4 separate regions of the Homo sapiens genome follow, and regions 1, 3 and 4 are each linked to region 2. Evidence: promoter capture Hi-C in human tissues and cell types (Jung and others, 2019). All regions are on one chromosome and are shown on one strand. Each heading gives the region's core, a stretch centred on a gene start or on the middle of the fragment in contact. The rest is flanking DNA. Distances are from core to core; before and after follow the strand shown.

The links. Contacts are between HindIII fragments. The study calls those that stand out against the background at their distance.
Region 1: a contact is called between a fragment that was not itself captured here and the fragment with the promoter of IP6K1 in region 2, in 1 of the 25 tissues and cell types used here (lymphoblastoid cells).
Region 3: a fragment that was not itself captured here is called in contact with the fragment with the promoter of IP6K1 in region 2 in 2 of the 25 tissues and cell types used here (IMR-90 fibroblasts and lymphoblastoid cells).
Region 4: a contact is called between a fragment that was not itself captured here and the fragment with the promoter of IP6K1 in region 2, in 2 of the 25 tissues and cell types used here (dorsolateral prefrontal cortex and thymus).

The regions. Positions count from the first base shown.
Region 1 is chr3:50,002,289-50,008,685 of GRCh38, reverse strand. The region is part of intron 6 of RBM6 (RNA binding motif protein 6); the gene reads right to left. Among named protein-coding and RNA genes, the nearest start is that of RBM6, 65 kb to the right of the region's middle. The HindIII fragment of the contact is 3,646 bases long and covers 674-4,319 here.
Region 2 is chr3:49,783,970-49,790,278 of GRCh38, reverse strand. It overlaps IP6K1 (inositol hexakisphosphate kinase 1), which reads left to right and starts at 3,737. Exons shown (of 6, transcript NM_153273.4): 1 at 3,737-3,925. RefSeq lists silencers at 1,884-2,093, 2,874-3,038, 3,774-4,123 and enhancers at 3,214-3,283, 3,370-4,059. The HindIII fragment of the contact is 27,523 bases long and covers 1-6,309 here.
Region 3 is chr3:50,034,362-50,040,853 of GRCh38, reverse strand. The region is part of intron 6 of RBM6 (RNA binding motif protein 6); the gene reads right to left. Among named protein-coding and RNA genes, the nearest start is that of RBM5, 51 kb to the left of the region's middle. The HindIII fragment of the contact is 5,977 bases long and covers 1-4,846 here.
Region 4 is chr3:49,555,637-49,562,445 of GRCh38, reverse strand. All of the region lies in intron 1 of BSN (bassoon presynaptic cytomatrix protein), which reads right to left. Among named protein-coding and RNA genes, the nearest start is that of BSN, 4.6 kb to the right of the region's middle. The HindIII fragment of the contact is 7,034 bases long and covers 1-5,270 here.

The sequences.
Region 1 (6,397 bases), core at 1,247-3,746, 220 kb before region 2:
GCTACTCGGGAGGCCAAGGCAGGAGAATCGCTTTAACCCGGGAGGTGGAGGTTGCATTGAGCCCAGATCACACCACTGCACTCCAGCTTGGACAACAGAGCAAGATCCGTCTCAAAAAAAAAAAAAAAAAAAAAAAAAAGTTACAAAAGAGCCAGGAGGTAATGAAGCTGGAATTCTAAATCTTTCTGTGCTACGAACCCTATACCATCTGAACATACATAAGGTCATAAACCAAAGTTATAATCAAGATGGCTAACTGAACTATGCCTTTGTACGACCCCTGAACTAATGAGATGTGACAACACTGAAGCACGAGGTTAAAACATATAGGTATATTTCCAATTTAGAACAAATTAAGAACTAAACTACTTTAATCCATAGAAATAAACCATGATTTGTGACAAAAATAATTATAAACCCATTGTAGGACACATATCAGAAGGTTCCCTTAAAACTGCCAAATGATAAATGTTTATTTTTCAAATTCGAGAGAATTAAAATGAGTCGTTTAGAGCACCTCTCATAATTAAAGAGCCTGAGATGTGGCAAATAATGGGCTGGTTATCAGAGCTTAGGGTGTTTTGCTTTGAGAGACAGCATCTCATTCTGTTGCCCAGGCTGGAGTGCGGTGACACCATCACAGCTCACTGCAACCTTGAACTCCTGGGCACAAGTGATCCTCCTACCTCAGCCTCCAGAGTAGCTAGGACTACAGGTGTGCACCACCATACCCAGCTAATTTAGAACTTACGGTTTTAAAGCCACAGGCTAGATTTCCTACATGGCCTAAACATACTCCATGTGGTACTGTCTGTCTCCTGCTCTTTCTCTTTAGAAAATTTAAGATTCTTATGGCCGGGAGAGGTGGCTCACGCCTGTAATCCCAGCACTTTGGGAGGCCGAGGCGGGTGGATCACGAGGTCAGGAGATCGAGACCATCCTGGCTAACATGGTGAAACCCCGTCTCTACTAAAAATACAAAAAAATTAGCCGGGTGTGGTGGCAGGCGCCTGTAGTCCCAGCTACTCAGGAGGCTGAGGCGAGAGAATGGTGTGAACCCGGGAGGCGGAGCATGCAGTGAGCCGAGATCACGCCACCGCACTCCAACCTGGGCGACAGAGCCAGACTCTGTCTCAAAAAAAAAAAAGAAAATTTAAGATTCTCTCTTGAAGGCTAAGGCAGCAGAAACTCCTACTAAGGGCCGGACATGGTAGCTCACTCCTGTAATCCAGCACTTTGGGAGGCTGAGGTAGGCAGATCGCTTTGACCTCAGGAGTTCGAGATCAGCCTGGGCAATATGGCAAAACCCCGTCTCTACAAAAATACAAAATTAGCCAGGCACGTGTCTGTAGCCACAGCTACTTGGGAGGCTGAGGCATGAGAGTGGCTTGAGCCCCAAAAACGGAGGTTGCAGTGAGCCGAGATCGCACCACTGCACTCCAGCCTAGGAGACAGAATGAGACCCTGTCTCAAAAAAGGAAAAAAAAAAAAAAAAACTCCAACTAGGGAAGCTGGAAGGAGTCCCCTGATAATCCGTATCAATCAACAGGCTAAATGAGAAGTATTGTTGATGGGAAAAAAAAAAATCCTCCTAGGCACTGCCACCAAATCCTCTTTTTGCCATATACTCCATTAAGCCAAGACCAGAGCTGCTGTAACTTAAGACTTTGTTTCAGATGAGAAGTTGTGTGAAAACAACAAAGATGCACTCAACATTCACTTTGTGCCAGCCCCAGTTCTTTTTTTTTTTTTTTGAGATGGAGTCTCACTCTGTCGCCCAGGCTGGAGTGCAGTGGTGCGATCTCGGCTCACTGCAAGCTCCGCCTCCCAGTTCACGCCATTCTCCTGCCTCAGCCTCCCAAGTAGCTGGGACTACAGGCGCCCGCCACCACGCCCAGCTAATTTTTTTGTATTTTTAGTAGAGACGGGGTTTCACCATGTTAGCCAGGATGGTCTCCATCTCCTGACCTCGTGATCCGCCCGTCTTGGCCTCCCAACTTGCTAGGATTACAGGCATGAGCCACCGCACCCGGCCACCAGCCCCAGTTCTAATCACCTTACATGCATTAACTTATTTAATCCCTAGATGTGTGTGAGAGTACGTTAAAACACAGAGAGGTTAAGCCACTTGTTCAAGTACACCTTAGAAAGTGATGGAGCCGAAATGCAACCCCCGGTAGTCTGCTTCCAGAATACTATGTTATACTGCTACATTATACTGCTTCATGTCCAGTCGAGTCTCAATCACTGGGCTGGGCACAGTGGCTCACATGTGTAATCCCAGCACTCTGGGAGGCCGAGGCGGGCGGATCACCTGAGGTGAGGAGTTCAAGACCAGCCTGGCCAACATGGTGAAACCCCATTTCTACTGAAAATACAAAAATTAGCCAGGCGTGGTGGCACATGCTTGTAATCCCAGTTACTCGGGAGGCTAAGGCAGGAGAATCACTTGAACCCAGGAGGCGGAGGTTGCAGTGAGCACCTCTGTGCTACAGCCTGGGCGACACAGCGAGACTCCATCTGAAAAAAAAAAAAAAAAAAGTCTCAATCAGTGGATAAATCGCACCCCTGCGCTACAGCCTGGGCGAACCAGTGAGACTCCATCTCAAAAAAAAAAGTCTCAATCAGTGGATAAATAGCCAAAATGTGTAATCAAGTCATCGATCCTTAAACTCACTTTCAATTTTCTTGAATACCCCAACTCTCTTGAGAGCGAGACTCTTCAATAACCCTTGGTTTGTACTCATTAATTGTTTTAATTTTTTTTTCTAGCTAGGTTATGAACCTATACACTCATTTTAGAATGCAGTTCCCCATGTTTCTACTACTACCCTTCTGAGGGTGATAAGGAAAAAGTACTGAAATTGAAGTTTCCAGCAAGAATGGCATGATTCCAGCCATAAGTTATACAGTTGAGCTCTGGCTAGGATGCTGGATACTCCTCAATGAAGTGTTTTTGGGGTGATAGTTGTTTAGGTAACACTACAACCTTCAACCTACAGATTATTGGTTTTGTTGCTTGGAATGCACACAATTTAAGTACTAAAGTGTTTCAGATAGTATTATGTCTTTACTACCAATTTAAGTTTCCAACAAACTAGGTTCTTCAATTTTTTCCATCATGGCCTCACAAATAGCATTCTCATCACTAAAAACATAAGCTTTCTCTGTTGCTTTTTTTTTTTTTTTTGAGGCAGGATCTCTCTGTCGCCCAGGTTGCAGTGCAGTGGCACAATCACGGCTCACTGTAGCTTTGACCTCCCAGGCTCAAGCAATCCTCCCACTTTAGCCTTCCAAATAGCTGGGACAATAGGCATGTGCCACTACACCCAGCTAATTTTTAACAATGTTTTGTAGAGATGAGGTCTTGCTATGTTACCCAGGCTGGACTCAACTCCTGGGCTCAAGTGATCCTCCTGTCACAGCCTGCAAAAGTGCTGGAATTACAGGTGTGAGCCATCACACCTGGCTTCCCTATTGCTCTAATTTTAATCACAAGGACAGACCACATTTGAGATTTGGTTTCCTATATATACCTTCAAAAACACTCTTGTATCTTCAATAACCCAAACTCTCTTAATTTTGTTGACACACACACAAAAAAACACTATTTCATAAAACTTCACGTATTCCACAGCTTTCATTCCTCACACCAGAAAAAGTCAATGTTTAAAGGAATTTTCACATCAGATGATAACAGAACCCTTTTTCTTTGCACTTTAGAAAGACTGATAGTGTCATACAAAAAGGTGAGTAAGGCTGGGCGCAGTGGCTCATGCTTATAATCCCAGCAATTTGGCAGGTCCAGGTGGGAGGCTCACTTGAGGCAAGGAGTTCAAGAGCAGCCTGAGCAACACAGCAAGACCCCATCTTTACGAACAGAGTTTGTTATTTTTTTAATTAGCCGAACATGGTGGCAGGTGCCTGTAGTCCAGCTACTCAGAAGGCTGAGGTGAGAGGATTGCTTAAGCCCAGGAGTTCAAAGCTGCAATGAGCTCTCATCGTACCACTGTACTCCAGCCTGAGCAACAGAACAGAACCCTAAGTCTCAAAAAAATAAAAATTTAAAAATAGGCCAGGCATAGTGGCTCACACCTGGAATCCCAGTGCTTTGGGAGGCCGAGATAGGTAAATTGCTTGAGTCCAGGAGTTCAAGACCAGCCTGGGGAATGTTGCAAAACCCTGCCTCTACAAAAAAAAAAAAAAAAAAATAGCCAGCTGTGGTGGTGGTAGTTCCAGCTACTAAAGAGAACTGAGTTGGGAGGATCACTTCGGCACAAGAGATCGAGGCCGCAGTGAGCCATGATTGTACCACTACACTCCAGCGTAGGTGACAGAGGGAGACCTTGTCTCCAATAAGAGGAGAGGGGAGGGGGGGGAGGGGAGAAAAAGGAAAGAAAAAAAGAAAAAGAAAAAGGAAAGGAAAGGAAAGGGGAAAGGAGAATAAAAATTTCAGAGAAATAAATACCTCTCCCAGAGTTATCTTCTATAAGGGCACTTTAGTGACTAATTTGGCCAAATAATAGACAATAAGCATCACACCAGCATACTTGAGAACATAAAATGCTAATCCCTGCATACCAAATGCCAACAGTCTGAGAGGGCTAGTACTCACAACTGGGCAACCAATGAAAGGGATTAACATTTTAACACAATACTTCTTACTCCCCTCCCCAAGTCCCAGTGCAAGGGCACACAAAGCAGAAGGAAATAATATGTACCCTCAATCTCCCAGAGACTTGACAACAAAGAAAGCCAAGGGCATATGACAGGGCTAGAAATACACTTTGCAGGAAGGGTGGAACGAAAGGCTCTGCCTGACAGTGCTTGCTGGCTGCCCCCTTCTCCTAGACAGAAATGGTGATGGTACAGACTAACAGATTCATACCTTCATACCTGTTGGAAATTATTTCTCCAGATAGACAGCTGCTGCCTAAGTGATACCCTGATCGGTCACCACAGCCACAAAGCTCAGTACTGCTGCAGAGCATCCTACTGTTTAACAGCTTGATCTAGGCACCAGGAAAAGGCTAGAGGGACCTTGGTTATCATCTTGAGCAACTTCACGAAGGCACACATACCCAACAATATTTGACAAAGCAAGCTAGCAGAAAATTCCTTTATTTCCATCCCCTAGGCCTACAAGTACCAGCCAATGATAAATAAAAGACATTTCACATCAAGAGTCGGAATAGCAAAGAGTTACAAAAAAACTCAAAGTACTTCGGAGTAACCTTCTCAGAGGCACACACACACTCAGGCTCTACTAAGAGTTGCCAAGCAGATCGTGGTGACTCAGAATCCATACCAATTTGGTCTGTAAGTAAAACTGGGGGAAAGGATAGACAAAGACTTTTTTTTTTTTTTTTTTTTTTTTAAATTTAGACAGGGTCTCACTATTTACCCCATGCTCATTTCAAACTCCTGGGCTCAAGTGATCCTCCAGCCTTGGTCTCCCAAAGTGGTGGGATTATAAGCTTGAGCCATAGTGCCCGGCCTACAAACACATTTTATCTTCCACAAATATTTATTTTATTTATTTATTTATTTATTCAATTTTATTGTTTTCTTGAGACAGAGTCTTGCTCTGTCAGCAGGCTGGAGTGCAGTGGTGCAATCTTGGCTCACTGCAACCTCCACCTCCTGGGTTCAAGCAATTATCCTGCCCCAGCCTCCCAAGTAGCTGGGACTACAGGCGTGCGCCACCACACCTGGCTAATTTTTTTGTATTTTAGTAGAGACGGGGTTTCACCTTGTTGGTCAGGATGGTCTTGCTCTCCTGACCTCATGATCCGCTCGCCTCAGCCTCCCAAAATATTTACTTTATTCACCCTGAGGAGACAGGACTTCTTCCCTCACATTCTTATGTCTCTCATAAGATTGTTTACTATGTCATAAGGAGTTTAATCCACATCCATTTCCTTAAAGAATTAGTTTTATTAAACTTCAGATATAAAAATAAATTTATTTTCTTATAATTATAATTGAAGGCCAGGCACGGTGACTCGTGCGTGTCATCCCAGCACTTTGGGAGGCCAAGGTGGGCAGATCACCTAAGGTCTGCAGTTCAAGACCAGCCTGGCCAACATAGTGAAACCCCATCTCTACTAATAATACAAAAATTGGCAGGACATGGTGGCTCACGCCTGCAGTCCCAGCACTTTGGGAGGCCAAGGCAGTCGGATCACCTGAGGTCAGGAGTTCCAGACCAGCCTGGCAAACATGGTGAAACCCCATCTCTACTAAAAATACAAAAATTAGCCAGGTGTGGTGGCGGGCACCTGTAATCCCAGCTATTTGGGAGGCTGAGGCAGGAGAATCACTTGAACCCAGGAGGTAGAGGTTGCAATGAGCTGAGATCGTGCCACCGCACTCCAGCCTGGGCAACAGAGCGAGA
Region 2 (6,309 bases), core at 2,488-4,987:
GAGAACAATGCTGCGTGTGTGTGTGTGTGTGTGTGTGTGTGTGTGTGTGTGCGCGCGCGCGCGCGCATGTGTGTGAAGGAGAGAGGGGGCGGGGAGAGGGAGAGAGGGGGAGAGAGAGAGAGAGAGAGAGAGAGAGAGAGAGAGAGAGAGAGAGAGAGAGAGAGAGAAAGATAGGGTCTGGCTGTCTGGCTTTGTTGCCCAGGCTGGAGTGCAACGGTGTGATTGTGGCTCACTGTAGCCTTGACCTCCCAGGCTCAATCGATCCTCCTACTCAGAATCCCAAGTAGGTGGGACTACAGGCATGGACCACCATGCCTGGCTAATTTTTAATTTTTTTGTAGAGATGGGATCTCTCTATGTTGACCAGGCTGGTCTTGAATTCCTGGGTCCAAGCCATCCTCCCCCTTCAGCCTCCCAAAGTGCTGGGATTATAGGTGTGAGCCACCGTGCCTAGCTCACTGTTGCTTTTGTTGTTGTTGTTGTTGAGATGTTTCTCTTTTTAATTTTTTTCTTAATTTTTAATTTTTGTGGGTACATAGGTGTATAAATTTGGAGGTACATGAGATGTTTTAATAAGGCATGTAATGGTTAATAATCACCTCATCGAAAATGGGGCATCCATCCCCTAAAGCATTTATCCTTTGTGTTACAAATAATCCAATTATACTCTTTCAGTTATTTTAAACTGTACAATTAAGTTATTATTGACTACAGTCACTCTGTTGTGCTATCAAACACTAGGTCTTATTCATTTTTCTTTTTTTTTGGTACCCATTAACCGTCCCACCTCCCCACCCCTTCCAGACTCTGGTAACTATCCTTCTACTCACTATCTCCATGAATTCAATTGTTTTGTTTAAATCTTTTTCCTTTTTTTTTTTTTTGAGATGTAGTCTTACTTTGTCACCCAGGCTGGAGTACAGTGGCACGATCTTGGCTCACTGCAACCTCCGCCTCTCATGATCAAGCAATTCTCGTGCCTCAGTCTCCTGAGTAGCTGGGACCACAGGTGTGCACCACCATGCCGGCTAATTTTTTTATTTTTTATTTTTAGTAGAGATGGAGTTTTCCTATGTTGGCCAGGCTGGTCTTGAACTCCTGACCTCAGGTGATCCTCCTGCCTCAGCCTCCCAAAGTGCTGGGATTACAGGCATGAGCCTCCGCACCAGCCAATCTCACAATCTCATTCTTTTTAATGGCTGAATAATATTCCATTCTGCATATGTACCATATTTTCTTTTCTTTTTTTTTTTTTTGAGATGGAGTCTCGCTCTGTTGCCCAGGCTGGAGCACAGTGGCGTGATCTCGGCTCACTGCAAGTTCCGCCTTCTGGGTTCACGCCATTCTCCTGCCTCAGCCTCCTGAGTAGCTGGGACTACAGGCGCTTGCCACCACGCCCGGCTAATTTTTTGTATTTTTAGTAGAGATGGGGTTTCACCGTGTTAGCCAGGATGGTCTCCATCTCCTGACCTCATGATCCGCCCGCCTCGGCCTCCCAAAGTGCTGGGATTACAGGCGTGAGCCACCGCACCCGGCCCATATGTACCATATTTTCTTTATCCATTCACCTGTTGATGGACACTTAGGTTGCTTCCAAATCTTGGCTATTGTGAATGGCACTGCAGCAAACATGGAAGTGCAGATATCTTTTTGATATACTGATTTCCTTTCCTTTGGGTACATACCCAGCAGTGGGATTGCTGGATCATGTGGTAGCTGTATTTTTAGTTTTCTGAGGAACCTCCGAACTGTTATCCACAGTAGTTATACCACTGTTGCTTTTTGAGGGTCCCATCAAACTTCAGGGCAATTTGCCAACTGTATGTGGAGGTTTTCTTGGGAAGGATCTGGAGCTTTTGCACTGCGGTGAGGGGTGATGCAGACTTGAGAATCCTGTGGCATGGCTGGTCCTGGAGGATTAGCAGAATCCCCCTTTTGAGGGTTGTTGGCTTTTCTTCCTGATCTGTTTCTTCTGGTTCCTCTGCTCTCACATCTCCCTGTGTTGACCTGAGCTATTGCATGTAGCCAAGTGGCCTGCAGCAATCTGCTGGTGGGCAGGTCTTGCTGGATGCAGTGTTGGCCCACTCTCCATGCCCAACCTGACATCAGGTCTCAGGCTTCTGCCAGCTCTCCAAGAGGACCTTACTGTGGTAAATCCAAGTTATCACAGTCTTTACTCGTCTGTTGAGTCTGTGGGCCTGAACCCCCTCAGGGTACTGGAGAACCTCCCTTTTTTTTTTTTGAGACAGAATTTTGCTCTGTCACCCAGGCTAGAGTGTGGTGGCGTGATCTCAGCTCACTGAACCTCTGCCTCCCAGGTTCAAGTGATCCTCCTGCCTCAACCTCCTGAGTAGCTGGGATTACAGGCACCTGCCATCACGTCCAGCTAATTTTTGTATTTTTAGTAGGGACAGGGTTTCACCATTTTGGCCAGGCTGGTCTCGAACCTCTGACCTCAAGTGATCCACCTTCTTTGGCCTCCCAAAGTGCTGGATTACAGGCATGAGCCACTGCGCCTAGCTAGGAGGACCTCCCCTTCTGAACCAGTTATGGTATCCCAGGGCCAGGAAGAAGCTGAAAGCCTTCTGTGGGAACAAAACAAAGCAAAACAAAAACGCTTCATGGGGCTTCCACCAAAGTTAGTGTTTTAAGGCACGCCTCAGGAACAGCAACTTGGAAGCAGGTTGTTCCAGGAAGTGGTTGTAGGCAGATTTTTCCTGAGTTCTTCCCCTGCTCTGAGGGCTCATTAAATCTTCCTCTGAGAAGCTCCACTTTTATCTTCATTTTACAGATGGGACAACCAAAGCTAAAGAGAGGCTAAGGCTCAAAAGTCAGAGTTAGCTAGTTGGGGCATTTGGGTGTGGGCCCAGGCCACGTAACTTCATCTGTTGTTCTAAGCCTGAAGCCAAGCCCAGAGTTAGGTGTTCTGTATGGGGAGCAAGGTGTGACCATCTTCCTGGGACCATTAGTCTGCTTGGGAGGCCGGTCATGACAGTCCAGGGCAAAAGATGCTGTCACAGGATCTCAAGACAAGATGCTCTAGGGAAGAGAAAAGGGAGTGCCCGCTGTGTGTCAGGACTTGTGCTAGGCTCTAAACCTCAGGCAGGAAAGCATGGGCAATGAGCCAGAGGCTGCTGTGGCAGCACAGACTGCGGTACCTCGAGGCTAGTAAGGGACAAAGCGTGGGAAGCTGGGATAGAGGCTCCTCACACTCTGAAACCAGCAGGAGGAGGTGCGAGACCCAGCACCTCCATTTCTAGAGGTGGCGTGACCTTGGCTCGGCCTCCCCTCTCTGAGCCTCAGTTTCCTCTCCAGAGTGAACTGGGGGCTGCACCCCCCTTCTCCCAGAGTGGGGGACAAAAAAACGAATAGCACACCGCTGAGATTCCCTGTGTGTGCGCAAGTGTATGACAAGACGCCGCCGGTACCGCACGAGGGCCAGGGACGCAGAGAGGCCAAGGGCGCTCCGGCCTCGTAGTAGCCAGCGAAAACTCCGCCGCCAGCCACTCCGGGAACGAAGCGCATGCGCCAACCCATGCCGTCACAGTCACGTGCCCCACGCTTTCGGCAGAGGCCCTGAGAGGCAGACTCTGACTGACACGTGAGCTGACCTGTCAGCAGGAAGCACTTCCCCTGGCGACGAGCAAAAAGACTGTTGATTGGGGATAGCACCCCCTCGGGGGCGGGTTCTTTGCAGTCCTGGTTACTATGACGCCCGGCCCCCGCCCCCTCGGCTAGCCGCCATCTTGTTGTTGATCCGTACCCAGTGGGCAGCGCCGGGAGCTGGACCAAGCGGCCGGTGAGAGGCCGCTGTAGCGGTGCTCAGCCACCTGTGCTGCCTGCCAGGGGGCGGGCCGAAACCTGGAGGCCCGGGGGGCCCAGCTCCCGTAGGGAGCCGTGGGCGCTCGGTGCCCGGGCCGGGCAGGTGAGTGACAGGAGCCGGGCCGATAGACCGGCCTGACGCCCGCGGGGAGGGCGGTGGCGGGCGCGGGGTTGGAGTGGGCGCGTGTGGGGTCGGGGCTCCGGTGGGGCCATCACTGGAACATCGCTCGAGCGTCCTGACCGGCCGCCCGCCGAGCCTCCCAGATGCTGGCACCGAAGCCGGGGGGACAGCCGGTGTGGAGGACGGAGAGCGCCAGTGCCTGAGGGTTGGCCGGCTAGTAGCGGGAAACCAGCTTCTCTGACCGAAGCTCTGGACTCCGCTGATCCGGAGCGCTAAAGTGTGTCCGGTGCCACCCTGATGCTCTCCTGGGAGTTATGTTGCTCCTGGCTGAGAAATAGACTTACCTCTTTCTTAGATAGCGTTCCTGCGAGTGATTTTCAGGACGCTGGATGCTAAGACTAGACGAAGCAAGCCAAAGCCCCCGCGAGCCAGGCAGGCCGGTGTCACGGCCCTATGATTATGGCAAGGGGGACCCTCTGCCTGGCTGCTGCTTCCTGAGACCCGTTCGGAACCTCACGTGTACCTCGAAGCTCACCGTTTTCCTCGCAAAGAACCTGGTTAAATGTCCATAATGGCTGAGTTTTATTTTGGAACATAATTTCTTTGGTTCTTCACCACCACTTTTTGGAGAGTGGTAATGTCTTCCTCTTTTTGCTTTAGGAGAAAGTGAGTATTATGGTGATGACTTGATTTTATCTCCTAAAGGGATGCTCGCCATAGGAGACAAAGGAAACGTAGGAGTGTCTTAGAATCGGAAAAAGAAACTTGTTTTTGTTGTGGATGATATGGAACTGGCAAATTAACTGTTTTTTTTCTTTTTTTTCTTTTGAGACAGAGTCTCTCGCTCTGTTGCCCAGGCCGGAGTGCAGTGGCGCGATCTCGGCTCACCACAGCCTCCACCTCCCGGGTTCAAGCGATTATCCTGCCTCAGCCTCCCGAGTAGGTAGGACTACAGACACGCGCCACCATGCCCGGCTAATTTTTGTATTTTTAATAGAGACGGGGTTTCACCATGTTGGCCAGGCTGGTCTCGAACTCCTGACCTCGTGATCCACCCCCCTTGGCCTCCCAAAGTGCTGGGGTTACAAGTGTGAGCCACTATGCCCGGCGCAAATTAACTTTTAACAGTACTAAAATTATCTTGCTCAGTGAAAACACCTTCAAGCCCCTTTCCTGTGAATTTGGGCAAGTTGGAGATCCTCAGTAGAGTGTGCAGGTCTAGGAAGAGTTCTCATTGCTCCAAAACACATTTCTCTTGACCTGTGGCCTCTTTGGTTCTTTGTACAGTCTTCTTGTATGTGGTCATAGAATATGCCTGCATGAGATGACTAAGAAGTCAAGCGACAATACTTTGTGCACTTTTTGTTTTGTTTTGTTTTGTTTTGTTTTTTTGAGATGGAGTCTTGCTCCGTTGCCAGGCTGGAGTACAGTGGTGCCATCTCGGCTCACTGCAACCTCTGACTCCCTGGTTCAAGCAATTTTCCTGCCTCAGCCTCCCGAGTAGCTGGGACTACAGGCACGTGCCACCACACCTGGCTAATTTTTGTATTTTTAGTAGAGACGGGGTTTCACTATGTTGGCCAGACTGGTCTCGAACTCCTGACCTCATGATCAACCCGCCTCCGCCTCCCAAATTGTTGGGATTACAGGCATGAGCCACCGCGCCAAGCCTACTTTTTTTTTTTTTTTCTGAGACGAAGTCTCGTTCTCTCACCCAGGCTGGAGTGCAATGGCACAATCTCAGCTGACTGCAACCTCTGCCTCCTGGGTTCAAGCAAGTCTCCTGCCCCAGCCTCCCAAGTAGCTGGGATTACAGGTGCGTGCCACCATGCCCGGCTAATTTCTGTATTTTTAGTAGAGACCTGGTTTCACCATGTTGTTCAGGCTGATCTCGAACTCCTGACCTCCTGATCCGCCTGCCTTGGCCTCCCAAAGTGCTGGGATTACAGGCGTGAGCCACTGTGCCTGGTCACGCGCCTAGCCTACTTTGTGCACTTCTATCAGGATCTTGTCACCTCTGAATGTATAATTTTGAAAGAGGCCAGGTGCGGTAGCTCATGTCTGTAATCCCAGCACTTTGGGAGGCTGAGGCGGGCGGATCACCTGAGGTCAGTAGTTAAGAGATTAGCCTATCCAAAATGGCAAAATCCCATGTCTACTAAAAATACAAAAATTAGCTGGGCGTGGTGGTGCATGGAGGCTGAGGCAGGAGAATCACCTGAACCCGGAAAGCGGAGGTTGCAGTGAGCTGAGATCGCGCCACTGCACTCCAGCCTGGGTGACAGAGTGAGACTCAGTCTCCAAAAATAAATAAATAAATAAATAATAAATAAAATAATAATTTTGAAAGAAACCAGCTCCTTGGT
Region 3 (6,492 bases), core at 609-3,108, 250 kb before region 2:
GGGCAATGTGATAAAACCCCGCCTCTACAAAAAATACAAAATGGTAGTGTGCGCCTGTTATCCTAACTACTCCAGGGGCTGAGGTGGGAGGGTTGCTTGAACCTGTGAGGTCGAGGCTGCAGTGAGCCAAGCTCACGCCATTGCATTCCAGCCTGGGTGACAAAGTAAGACCCAATCTCAAAAAAAAAAAAAAGAATTCTGCTCTGGGAACACAATACACTCCAAGCCAGACCCTGACATAAGAAAATGTAAATATACACATATATATGTATATATCTATAGATATACATGTGTGTGTATATATATATGCATGTGTGTGTGTATATATATACACACGTGTGTGTGTGTGTGTGTGTGTGTATATATATATATATATATATATTTTTTTTTTTTTTTTTTTTTTTTTTTGAGAAGGAGCCTTGCTCTGTCACCCAGGCTGGAGTGCAGTGGTGCGATCTCAGCTCACTGCAAGCTCTGCCTCCCGGGTTCATGCAATTTTCCTGCCTCAGCCTCCCGAGTAGCTGGGACTACAGGCACCCATCACCACGCCTGGCTAATTTTTTGTATTTTTAGTAGAGATGGGGTTTCACCGTGTTAGCCAGGATGGTCTCGGTCTCCTGACCTCGTGAGCTGCCCACCTCGGCCTCCCAAAGTGTTGGGATTACAGGCGTGAGCCAGGGCACCCGGCCGAGAACTTAAATATTTTAAAGGTGTCTGGTGCTAAGAATATATTCCACCCACTTCACTACCACTCCTTGCAGGTCTTACATGCATTTTAAAGTAAGATTCAGGTTCTAGAAAATGCCTCCTATCATGATGAAAGAAAACCAGGGATCCGTAGTCTTGGAGGTAATTCCATGAACTTGGCTCCAGGAACATAGAAAGAACAGTGCCTACCAGGGGATCCACACGTCTCTCCTATTCTAAGGTTCCATTACATTTGTATTTGCGGCAAAAACAAAGAGGCAAAATATATAAATAAGCAAGTAAGTAAGTAATCAAAAGAGCCTCAAATCTTTTCTCTCCTTGTGAGAAGACAAGACTCTATCATAAAGACTGAGACTGTGAGGCAGACAGGGCATTCAACAAATTCCTTCATCACAGAATCTCCGTAGATTGCTTCTTACAATTTATAAACTCCAACTATTAGCACTCAGAACAACTGAAAAACTGAACCACTAAAATGCAGATTTTTAAAAAACTTTTCAGCTTGTTATAATTTTGTATCTTTTAGAGCAATGGTTCACCTAACATTTATAAAAACCTTAGTCAAAATTTCTCTGGTTAATAATTTATTTCCGTATGCTGGGTGCGGTGGCCCATGCCTGTAATCCCAGCACTTTGGGAGACCAAGGGTGGGGGGGGGGGGGGTGGATCACCTGAGGTCAGGAGTTCGAGACCAGCCTGGCCAACATGGTGAAACCCTGTCTCTACTACAAGTACAAAATTAGCTGGGTGTGGTAATGGGCGCTTCTAATCCCAGCTACTCGGGAGGCTGAGGCAGGAGCATCGCTTGAACCTGGGAGGTGGAGGTTGCAGCGAGCCGAGATTGTGTGATTGCACTCCAGCCTGGGTGAAAAGAGCGAGACTCCATCTCAAAATAAATAAATAAATAATAATAATTTATTTTCACACAAAGATATGGCCTAATTCTTGGTGGAAGTAAAATATCACATTTTGACATATTTTACTGATAATTCTCAGAATTCCCTTCAGAATTCAGAATTCTATAACCTCTATCTTATTTTTTTCCTCTTTCCTGAGTTGATTCCAATCACATAGCAATGAAATAAAAATACTCACAAAGTAGAATATGTACAGAAACAAGATACAGCTTGTTCTTTTCTGACAATTGAATCAGTTAACCCTAAAATAATTATGAGGTATGTAGGGCAAGGGCTTTTAGTCCCAGATAAAAGAGAGGCTCTCTCCTACTGCAATTAGGGACATCCCCCACCTCAACACAGAGTGAAGGGCAGCTGATTTACATCATTTCTTTTCTTCTTTTTCTTCTTTTTTTGGGGACGGAGTCTTGCTCTGTTGCCTAGGCTGGAGTGCAGTGGCGCGATCTCGGCTCACTGCAAGCTCTTCCTCCTGGGTTCACGCCATTCTCCTGTCTCAGCCTCCTGAGTAGTTGGGACTACAGGTGCCGGCCACCACACCTGGCTGATTTTTTTTGTATTTTTAGTAGAGACGGGGTTTCACCCTGTTAGCCAGGATGTTCTCGATCTCCGGACCTCATGATCCGCCCGCCTCGGCCTCCCAAAGTGCTGGGATTACAGGCGTGAGCCCCTGTACCCGGCCTGATTTACATCATTTCTATAACACTTTTATATTCTGAGATGACTACTATTGGAGCTCCCTGGCTCTTTTCTTCTGGAAAAAGTAGACTCTAAATTCAACATCAAGGCATGCTTCATTGAATAGGTCTCTAAACTGAATCACTATAGAGAAAAACAAATAGGGAGTTTGGTAAATAAATGTGGAAAATATAAAGCTTCTTAATTTGCTTTGTTTACCAAAGAATATAATAAAACTATTCCTTTTTCTTAAAAACTTAATGGCAGGAGGTGGTAGAGAACAGCCAAGAGAGCAGACTGAGGCCCACAAGACCTAAGATACTGTACAGGCCTCACTGCTGAGCCCATCACAAAGCCTGCACAGTATTCCCCAGGCATCCCCAAAGAACCAGCAGCTATTCTTCAGGATCCACCATCCAAAAGAGACATTGGAACCGGCAGCGGTGGCTCACACCTGTAATCCCAGCACTTTGGGAGGCTGAGGCGGGTGGATCACCTGAGGTCAGGAGTTCAAGACCAGCCTGGCCAACATGGTGAAATCCCATCTCTACTAAAAATACAAAAATTACCCGGGCATGGTGGCGGGCGCCTGTAATCCCAGCTACTCAGGAGGCTGAGGCAAGAGAATCACCTGAACCTGGGAGGTGGAGGGTGCAGTGAACCAAGATCGTGCCACCACACTCCAGCCTGGGCAACAAGAGCAAAACTCTGTCTCAAAAAAAAAAAAAAAAAAAGGAAAGAAAAGAAATTTGCCACGCATGGTGGCTCATGTCTATAATCCCTACACTTTAGAAGGTCAAGGTGGGAGAACTGCTTGAACCCAGGAGCTCGAGACCAGACCAGCTCAGGGAACACAGTGAGACCCCATCTCCATTGCTATTAAAACAAAATTTTTTAATGGGAAAAAAAATAAAAAGAGACATTATTTCTACTGACCCTTTATCTATCACCTCCCACCCAAGTACTTGAGCTTCCTCAAAGGTATCTTTAGCCCCTCTGCCTGTAACGTCCTCAAAGAGTCTTGCTGACTTGATTTCTGCAGAAATAGTGCCTTGAAAATATTAATAAAATACAGAGCCTCTGGACTTCTGAATACATACTGTTCAACTAATATTTTAGGGAGGTGACTATGCCCCCCTGCTTTTTTTGAGACAGGGTCTTGCTCTGTCACTCAGGCTAGAGTGCACTGGTGTTGTATGATCATAGCTCATTGTAGCCTTGATCTCCTGAGCTCAAGCAATCATCCCACCTCAGCTTCCTGACAAGCTGGGACAATACGTGCATGTCACCAAGTCTGGCTAATTTATTTTATTTTATGCAGACATGGGGTCTTCCTATGATGCCCCGGCTGGTCTTGAACTCCTGGGCTCAAATGATCCTCCTGCCACAGCCTCCCAAAGGGCTGGAATTACAGGTGTTAGCCATCATGCCCAGCCAATTCTCTTCTTAGGCAGAAAGCTATTGACCCAATGCCACTTAGAAGTACCAAGACTAAGAATGGAAGCTTTTTGGGAGGCCAAGGTGGATGGATCACGAGGTCAAGAGATCGAGACCATACTGGCCAACATGGTGAAGCCCCGTCTCTACTAAAAATTAAAAAAAAAATTAGCTGGGCATGGTGGCATGAGCCTGTAGTCCCAATTACTTGGGAGGCTGAGGCAGGAGAATCACTTGAACCCAGGAGGCGGAGGCTGCAGTGAGCCAAGATCGCGCCACTGCACTCTAGCCTCGCGACAGAGCAAGACTCCCATCTCCAAAAAAAAAGAAAGGAAGCTTTAAGTCAGAAAAGGTTCACTGGGATACATGGGATACAAGGTTAGGTCCCTAATCCTTTTTGTTCTACTTATTTTCACAAGCAAATAACACAAAGAATTATCAAACTTCAGCCCTTGATAAAAATGAGGGCTGGCTTCTAACATTGAAGACATGCTATGGTTAAATTAGCCAATATTTGGAAAGCAGCATTTACTGAGCTATAATATCATGGCTGCTACAATATAATGGCTATAATATCTTAACTTTTTTTTTTTTAACAGCAGATATGTATAGAGTGAGGGAATGATTCCTGCACGAAGAAGAAATTTGTAGTAATCCAGGAGTTAGGGAGAAGACAAAGCCAGCATGTCACTAACTATATCCCTGCTGGAGTTGGGATCATGTGCTACAAAGGCATAGCCCATAGCTAGTCATCAAGAAACTCTCCTGATCAGACCTGTATGCCTTGGCAATCTATCACAGACGTAACCCTTGGATGCCTTTAAACTCCATCAGACGTTAAGACATACCATCCAGTTTATTAAAAGGCATCTCTTGTAGTTTGTAGGCTATAAAAAGAAAATACGTTTAAAAAGGGAGACCCTGCTGGGCGCAGTGGCTCATGCCTGTAATCCCAGCACTTTGGGAGCTGAGGTGGGCGAATCAACTGAGGTCAGGAGTTTGAGAACAGCCTGGCCAATATAGTGAAACCTGGTCTGTACCAAAAATATAAAAATTGAGCTGGGCGCAGTGGCTCACGTCTGTAATCCCAGCACTTTGGGAGGCCAAGGTGGGTGGATCACAAGGTGTGGAGTTCAAGACTAGCCTGGCCAAGATGGTGAAACCCTGTCTCTATTAAAAATACAAAAAAATTAGCCAGACATGGTGGTGGGCACCTGTAATCCCAGCTACTCAGGAGGCTGAGGCACGAGAATTGCTTGAACCTGGGAGGGGAGGTTGCAGTGAGCCGAAATCACGCCACTGCGTTCCAGCCTGGGCAACAGAGTGAGACTCTGTCTCAAAAAAAAAAAATTTTTTTAAATAAAATCATAAAAAGGGAGACCTTTGAACAGTATTAGGAAGCATGCTGAAGTTTCTTTTTTATTTATTTTTTTTTGAGACGGAGTCTGGCTCTGTCGACCAGGCTGGAGTGCAATGGCATGATCTCAGCTCACTGCAAGCTCCGCTTCCCAGGTTCACACCATTCTCCTGCCTCAGCCTCCCAAGTAGCTGGGACTACAGGCACCCGCCACCATGCCCGGCTAATTTTTTGTATTTTTAGTAGAGACGGGGTTTCACCGTATTAGCCAGGATGGTCTCGATCTTCTGACCTCGTGATCCGCCCACCTCGGCCTCCCAAAGTGCTGAGATTACAGGTGTGAGCCACCGCACCCTGTCCTGAAGTTTCTATTATACAGAGTAGCCTGTAAGTCTGGCTTTTCCAGGGCAGTTTTAACTGCTCTCTATCCTGTTGAAAGGCTATGTGTTGGTGCACTTGTCTTTCAGGTCACCTGCTTGGCCCTCTTCCAAGTGTACTTTCCTTCCTTTCATTCCTGTTCTAAAGCTTTTAAATAAACTCTCTCCTGTTGTAAAACTTGCCTTGGTCTCTCCTTCTGCCTTATGACCCTCAGTCAAATTGTTTCTTCTGAGGAGGCAAGAATTGAAGTTGCTGCAGACCTGTATGGATACAGATTTGCTGCCCTTAGCAGATAGACAGATAAAGAGAGGGGAGGGGAGGAGAGGGGAGTAGGGGAGGAGAGGGGAGGGGAGGGGAGGGAAGATGAGAGGAGAGGAGAGGAGAGGGAAGAGGAGAGGAGAGGAGAGGAGAAAGAGAAACAGATTTTTTTCTTTTCCTAGCCTATGTTAGAAGCCATAGCAAATTAGTGAAAGGGACAAAGAAGCTGAGCCTGCTTCTTTAGCCATGATATATCAGTACTGTTCCTTAGAAGGAAAACTGCCCTTGCTATAGACTGGAATTTTCTCTTTTCAGAATAAAAGTTTTGGTTCCTTGTCCAATTATTCATTGCCTTTTTTTTTGGAGACGGAGTCTCGCTCTGTCGCCCAGGCTGGAGTGCAGTGTTGTGATCTCGGCTCACTGCAACTTCCGCCTCCCGGGTTCAAGCAATTCTCCTGACTCAGCCTCCCTAGTAGCTGGGATTACAAGCATGCGCTACTACACCCGGCTAGCTTTTGTATTTTTAGTAGAGATGGGGTTTCGCCATGTTGGCCAGGCTGGTCTCAAACTCCTGACCTCAAGTGATCTGCCGCCTTGGCCTCCCAAAGTGCTGGGATTACAGGCGTGAGCCACCGCACCTGGCCACCACCATCTGAAATTCTTATCAGGAAAACTGCAGAATGGAAAGAGTTATTTAACACTGCTGGAAGTGAAGAGAGACAAAAAGAGAGTGAGAAAATATGCCAACAGGTCATATAAAGT
Region 4 (6,809 bases), core at 504-3,003, 230 kb after region 2:
AATTTAAGGAAGAAGAAGTTGAGGCTAAAGATCTGGACAAGAGTTCTCTCTCCCCACACCATGGGCCCCTTTAGGGCAGAGCCTATTTTATGCTCCTTCTTTTATTCCTCACACTTCACCCAGGGATAGGTATCCAAAAGATGTTCAGCAGAGTTTCCTGAATACATGGATAAAATTTCACTTTAAAATTGTTCCATTTCTATGTAGAATCTAACTGTAAAAATCCCCACAAACACTCCCATACACAAAAAAGTGTAGGTGACACAGTAGGAGGTAGAAGGGAAGGTTGAGGAGATGTTTCAGTTAGATAGGAGGAATAAATTCAAGAGATCTAGGCTGGGCATGGTGGCTGGCTCACACCTGCAATCTCAGCACTTTGGGAGGCTGAGGCAGATGGATCACTTGAGGCCAGGAGTTCAAGACCAGCCTGGCTAACATGGTGAAACCCAGTCTCTACTAAAGATGCAAAAATTAGACGGGCATGGTGGCACACACTTGTAATCCCAGCTACTCGGGAGGCTGAGACATGAGAATCACTTGATCCCAAGAGGCAGAGGTTGCAGTGAGCTGAGATCACGCCACTGCACTCCAGCCTGGGCGACAGAGTGAGACTTTGTCTCAAAAAAAAAAGAAAAGAAAAAATAACAACAACAAGAGATCTACTGTACAACACGGTGACTATAGCTAACACCAATGTATTGCATTCTTGTAAATTTCTGCTAATAGATTTTAAGCATCCTCACCACAAAAATGGTAAGTATGTTAAGTCATGACTATGTTAATTCACTTGACTTAGCCATTCCATAATATGTCATAATATGTACATATTTCAAAACATCAGGTTGTATATAATAAATATATAGTGCATAATTTTTGTCAATTTAAATAATTAATTAAAAAAATTTTTTTAATGGGAGTGACCCTTGTTACCTGCCTGCAAACACAAATGTAACAGTGTAACTATTAGGAAATTTCCTCACCTACCCTTTCTCCCAAGAACCCAAATGCCTTAATGGTTCTTCCAGCATCTTTGGGAGGTTTGGCTCCCCACACAAGCCAGTGGCATTGAAGAGCTCGGGCTCCTCTGGATACAGGGGTTAGTCCCAGATAGGACTGGGTGGGGTGATCCTTGCTGCTGAGGCTCTTGGATCTCCTCAGTGTTTGGGACCAAGATCCAAAAGCCATCCCTTCTATTTCCCCTCAGGGAAAATCTCTTCTTCACCGTTGGCCCTGACAGCAGCCTCACCCACTTTAGGGGCAACCAGGCCTCTCCAGGCCATTCAAGATTTGATCTGATCCTGGGGTGATCTAGAGCTCCCTGGAGGCTTCCCATGTGCCTCCATGTGACCCTCTTGTTAGAAAGAAGTAGGGGCCCCAGGTCTCTGCTAGAGCAAAGCTCTCTTTAGAACCCTATGTGCCCGTAAAGACGAATAATAGGAAGGAGAGATCACAGCAGCCCTGTGGCCAGCCTGGGAGCCCAAGGCACAACACAGATGTGTCAGGGAGTATCCCATTCCACAGCAGAGCTGACCAGAACCTAAAATATAAGACAAATGGGCCAAGAGAATGCTAGGGGGCAACAGACCCCCACTAGAAGCCCGATCTGTACAGAAGGAACCACAGAGAGTGAGACACCAAAATTCTATCACCCCTACCACAGGCAGGAGCCCACAGGCCAGTGTCCCAATTCACTCCACAGCTTCAACCACTGTGCTAGTGAGAGGAGATGGCAGAGGTCCCTCCAGAAAAGGAGCTCGGGCAAGTGCTACAAATGCAGGATCAATACCAGCATGACATGCTCCTGGCACCAAATGAAAGGACTGAGCAGGAGTCCCCCACAGCTAGATTGTTCACCAAGTCCCAGCTTACCCAGAGGGCCTCATGTCCTAAAGTGACAGTCAGCCCTTGCTGTAGGCATGCAGGGCTTAGCCACCATTTTACCATTTAAAAAGTCAGTCCCCAGGCAGTAAGTAAAGTCAGGACAGGCAGGGCCTGCAGAAGCTGAATGGCCAAGCAGGTGGAATAAGAAATAAAACACCTAGCAGAATGTCTGTGATGAGGCAGTCATTCAGTAATGGTAGTCATAACTGCTATTACAGTGTTGCCAACCTACCTTCACAGTTAGCCCCAACTTACTGCACATGGCCCACAGGCTCCAGCAACAGGTTCCCCTCACATAGCCCACACATAGTAGGTCTGGCCTTCCACACCCCCACAACTAACAAGAGGAAAGGGCCCAATTCAGAAATGCAGGACCTGTGATAAGGGGAAAGATTTATTAAGCCCCCAAATGTGAGTAGGAGGCTTCCTACTCACATATGCAGGGAGGGCTCCCCCACACTGGGGTGAAAGGCATGACTTTTCTGGGGGAAAAAAAAAACAACTTTCCTCTGAAAGCTTTGACTTCTTAAACTCAGAACCAAACTGACTCAGAGGAAGGAGATCTTTAGAAAAGGAACAGAAAAGTGGTCCACTGCATTGTTCTTTGGCTCCCAATTAGCCCAAACCCTGGTTCTGCTTTCAGTGAACTCTCAGCCTCTCCATGTCTGAAGCCTTCAATAAACTCTTTTTTAAAAAGCTAGAATTTCTTGACCAAAAGAATAAAATTTGAATCTGATTAGCTTCTAGACAGAATTCTCAGTTTACAAGAAAAACATGGGACAGAGGAACATCTTAAATGACACCACAGGGATGCAATCAGCATAATCCTGAATATGAGAAACCACAGGACAAATGTCATAGTTCTCTAATAATAAACTGCAAGGAGCAAAAAGGAGAGAAAATACATAAAGAAACTAGACAGATGCATCAGACAAATTCAATGTGTAGACCCTGTTTAGATCACAATTCAAACCAATAATAAAAGTAAATTCATAAGACAATCAGAAAAGTAGAATCCTGACTGAATATTTGCTGAGTTTAAGAAGAGATCATTATCTTATTTAGATGTGGCTGTGGTGCTGTGGTTATGTTCATGCAAAGCCCTTATTTCTTGGAAATACAAACTGAAATACTGATGATGAAATTTTGGGATGTCTGGAATTTGCTTCTCTAGGGGGTAGGATGTGAGAGAGATAAATTAAACTCAATTGGCCATAAGTTGATGATGGCAGTGGCTAAGCAATGGGAACACAAAAGTTCATTAGACCATTTCCTCTACTTTCATGTATGTTTGAAATTTTCCATAGTAAAAAAAAAATGTTTAAGATAGCATTTCTCGGCCAGGCACAGTGGCTCATGCCTGTAATCCCAGCACTTTGGGAGGCTGAGGCGGGCAGATCACCTGAGCTCAGGAGTTTGAGACCAGCCTGGCCAACATGGTGAAACCCCGTCTCTACTAAAAATACAAAAATTAGCTGGGTCTGGTGGTGGGTGCCTGTAATACCAGCTACTCAGGAGGCTGAGGCAGGAGAATCGCTTGAACCCGGGAGGCAGAGGTTGCAGTGACCCGAGATCGCGCCACTGCACTCCAGCCTGGGCGACAGAGCAAGACTCTGTCTCAAAAAACAAAAAACAAACAAACAAAAGACAGTATTTCTCCTCCTAATGTCTCCATTACATTTTTACATTTTTTAAATCAACAGCACCTTATTAGTCTTAATGATGCTGTGAGCAACTGTATTATCAAAAGTAGCCTGCTTTCCCTGGAGAAATGCAAAAATGGTTGCCCTCTGGGTAAAATTTTGACATCGTCACCATTCAGATGTAAGGTCACTTTAATTCACACTCCATGACATACCCTCTGTGAGATCCAGCCACTGGGGACAAAGAAGATCTCTAAGTGACAAAGGAGCATTATTTCCAGACCTGGCAATTATGTCCTTTCATTTTATCTTTACAAGTTAGTGCCAGATTTTTCTAGAGGCTGAGTTGGCTGATATAATGTAACAAGTCTGACTAATCCCAGACCAGAGATACTATGCCTGACAAATCCATTTTGAAAAAGGAATTCGGGGTATGGTTCTCAGAGCAGCCTTGCCCACCTTCCAGTAAACAACCAGGTTCTCTGTGCCTAGCTGCCTTTGGCTTAGGGTGTCTGTCTCAATAACATATGGGCCAGGAGTGAAGAGAGGCGACTTTGGCATTGATTACGCATTCTGATGGGCAATGATGGAGAAGGGCCTCTGTTGGCTTTGCCCTGGCTTTCCCCCACCACCCTGCACTCAGCCTCATTCTCTGCTCACTGTCCCTGCCTGTGTAGACCACATTCTTTATGCCATTTATCTCTATCTCTACCTCTCTTAACCCAGTCATTTTTCCAGCCTTACATCTCTACCTCTCCTAAAGCTTAGCTGTGCCTCTCCACTCTTCCCAATTAACAACCCTGTAAGCACTGCTTATTTGACATTTCTCAGATACTGAGCTGCCCACAGTGTCTCTCTTAGGGTTCTTCCATGATTTGGCTCTTCAAGAGCTATCTGACCAACCAGTCTGTGAGGTGCTGAAGGACAGGGAAGCACTATATATCCTTTCCATACCATCCACAAAGCCAATAACTGTGCTTGCTCTTGACAGCTGACAAATACACCTTAGCTGATCGACTAGATATCAATTTGCAAACATCAAAACATGTGCAAGTTGGGCCGGGTGCAGTGGCTCCCGCCTGTAATCCCAGCACTTTGGGAGGCCGAGGCAGGTAGATCACAAGGTTAGGAGATCGAGACCACGGTGAAATCCCATCTCTACTAAAAGTACAAAAAATTAGCTGGGTGCGGTGGTGGGCGCCTGCAGTCCCAGCTACTCGGGAGGCTGAGGCAGGAGAATGGCGTGAACCCAGAAGGTGGAGCTTGCAGTGAGCGGAGATCGTGCCACTGCACTCCAGCCTGGGCGACAGAGCGAGACTCCAACTCAAAAAAAAAAAAAAAAAAAACTGACAGGTGCAAGTCCACAGAGCTGGTGTAAACTAGACAGGCTGCCACTGGTCTACATGGCTCCTTCGTGTAATTATTTTAAAAAGTACTTTCTGGGGTACTGATAAAGTTCTGTCTTGATCTGGTAGTGTGTCACGAGTGTATGTATAAATAAAATCCCATCAATATGTGTGTTCCACTGTACATTAGGCATATCTCCATAAATAAGTAAATGAATTAACGAGTGAATGATGCCCCTTCATCTAAGAGGATGCAGCCTACACCAGGGCACACAGCTTGGAGAGTGGAGCCTGGGTTAGAGTTCAGCTTTCTCCCAAACCAGCACTCCTTGGAAAAGGCACAGATTATATAATTGTACATGGCCACCCTGACACCAGAAGCAGAGAGCCCTTCCTTGAGGGACTCTCCAATGCCCAAAGCTCCACATCATCCCGACGGGCTAAGAGGCACCACTATGGGTGTGGCAGCACTGCTACTCATGGGATTCAAGTCAGGCTCTTCAGCAGCAAATGCTGGAGCCACCCCCTCACAGAGTCCAACTCAGCTCAGTATGAGGATGAAAAGACTAATTCAGCCTGGGATGACAAGGTAATATGGCAATAGCATTTAACTCCCCCAGAATCATCTCCCTTTTACCTGGCCTTCTACCCACCTCTATGAGGTTTCTGACTGCCCCGAAATTCAAAATCTTACTGAAAGCAAATATGTCTTTGTGCTAATGCTCTTTCCTGAATGCCCAGAAGCACATTCACAGGGCTTTTTCCCCATCAATGGGCCAATCTGTTCAGCAGCATCTTAGAACATGCTAAATTTGGCATCAGGTATCTGAGATGCTCTAGTGAGAGGAAGTAGAAGCCATTGCAATACTAAAGGAGAGATAAGCCATGGAGCTGCTGCTCAGCTGAGGTGCTATGATAAAATGAATATCAGCTGGAGGAGTAAATCCCACCTCCTAATGGTCTCTGGTTCTGAGCTTTGGGGACAAATAGCCAGCTCACCTCCTGAGTCTGATAGTCACAGGACCTCAGCACCACAGGCTCAGGTATGAGCCTTGCCCACAGCCAGGTAAGAGATTGTGTGACTACTAAATCCATCAGGAGTCCGTGGTTCGCCTCACCCACAGCAGTTCATGGGTCTGCCTGCAGCAGAATGTACAGATGAAGTACAAATGAAACACTAAAAAGGCATATGAGCAATAGACATCAGCCTCCTTCCGGTCCCTCTGAGCTGCCCAGGTCTTTCCAGAATTTCATATGATTGGCTCTGCAACATCTGATAAACTACAAGCAGAGCAGCCTGTTTGGTTATCAGAAGAGAAATGACAAATTCCCCATACAGGGAACTCTCAATAACAAGGTGTTTTTCCATTCAGCTACAGAAGCTTTCCCTTGGAAGGAGAACACTAAAGCCTGGGTGAGCCTCCCTCAAGCTAAAACCCAAACAGCAACTCAACATGCAGCAAAATGGACAGTGTTTGCAGTGCTAAGAGCTGTGTGCTATCCAACTGCATTACTATTATAGCTAGTATAAAATGGACAAATCCCACCTCTAAAAAGGATGCTCACAGGCTGACCTGTCTGCCGCAGGTTTCAAGCTACTAACAGCCTTTCATTACTGTTAGTTGTCTAAGAAATGACTTCTGAGGAAATAAACACACAAGAGGCACAGTCGGGCAGCCAAAGAATAAAAAATTATGCGTCCTCAGTTTATGTGCTTCCACACAGAAAAGCCAGGGCAACATATATCAGCAGACCCACATGGAGCTGGAAGCACCTCCCTCCCACCCCCTGGGGGTTTTGCTACTCCCCAAGCCTATTTGGTGCAAAGATAATGCCTTCCATTTTATCGTGTCATCTCTTAGTAGTTTTCCTGAGTTTTCAGTCTACTGACTTATTATATATTGGCATTCCCTTACAGCCTTCATTGCCACTTGACTGT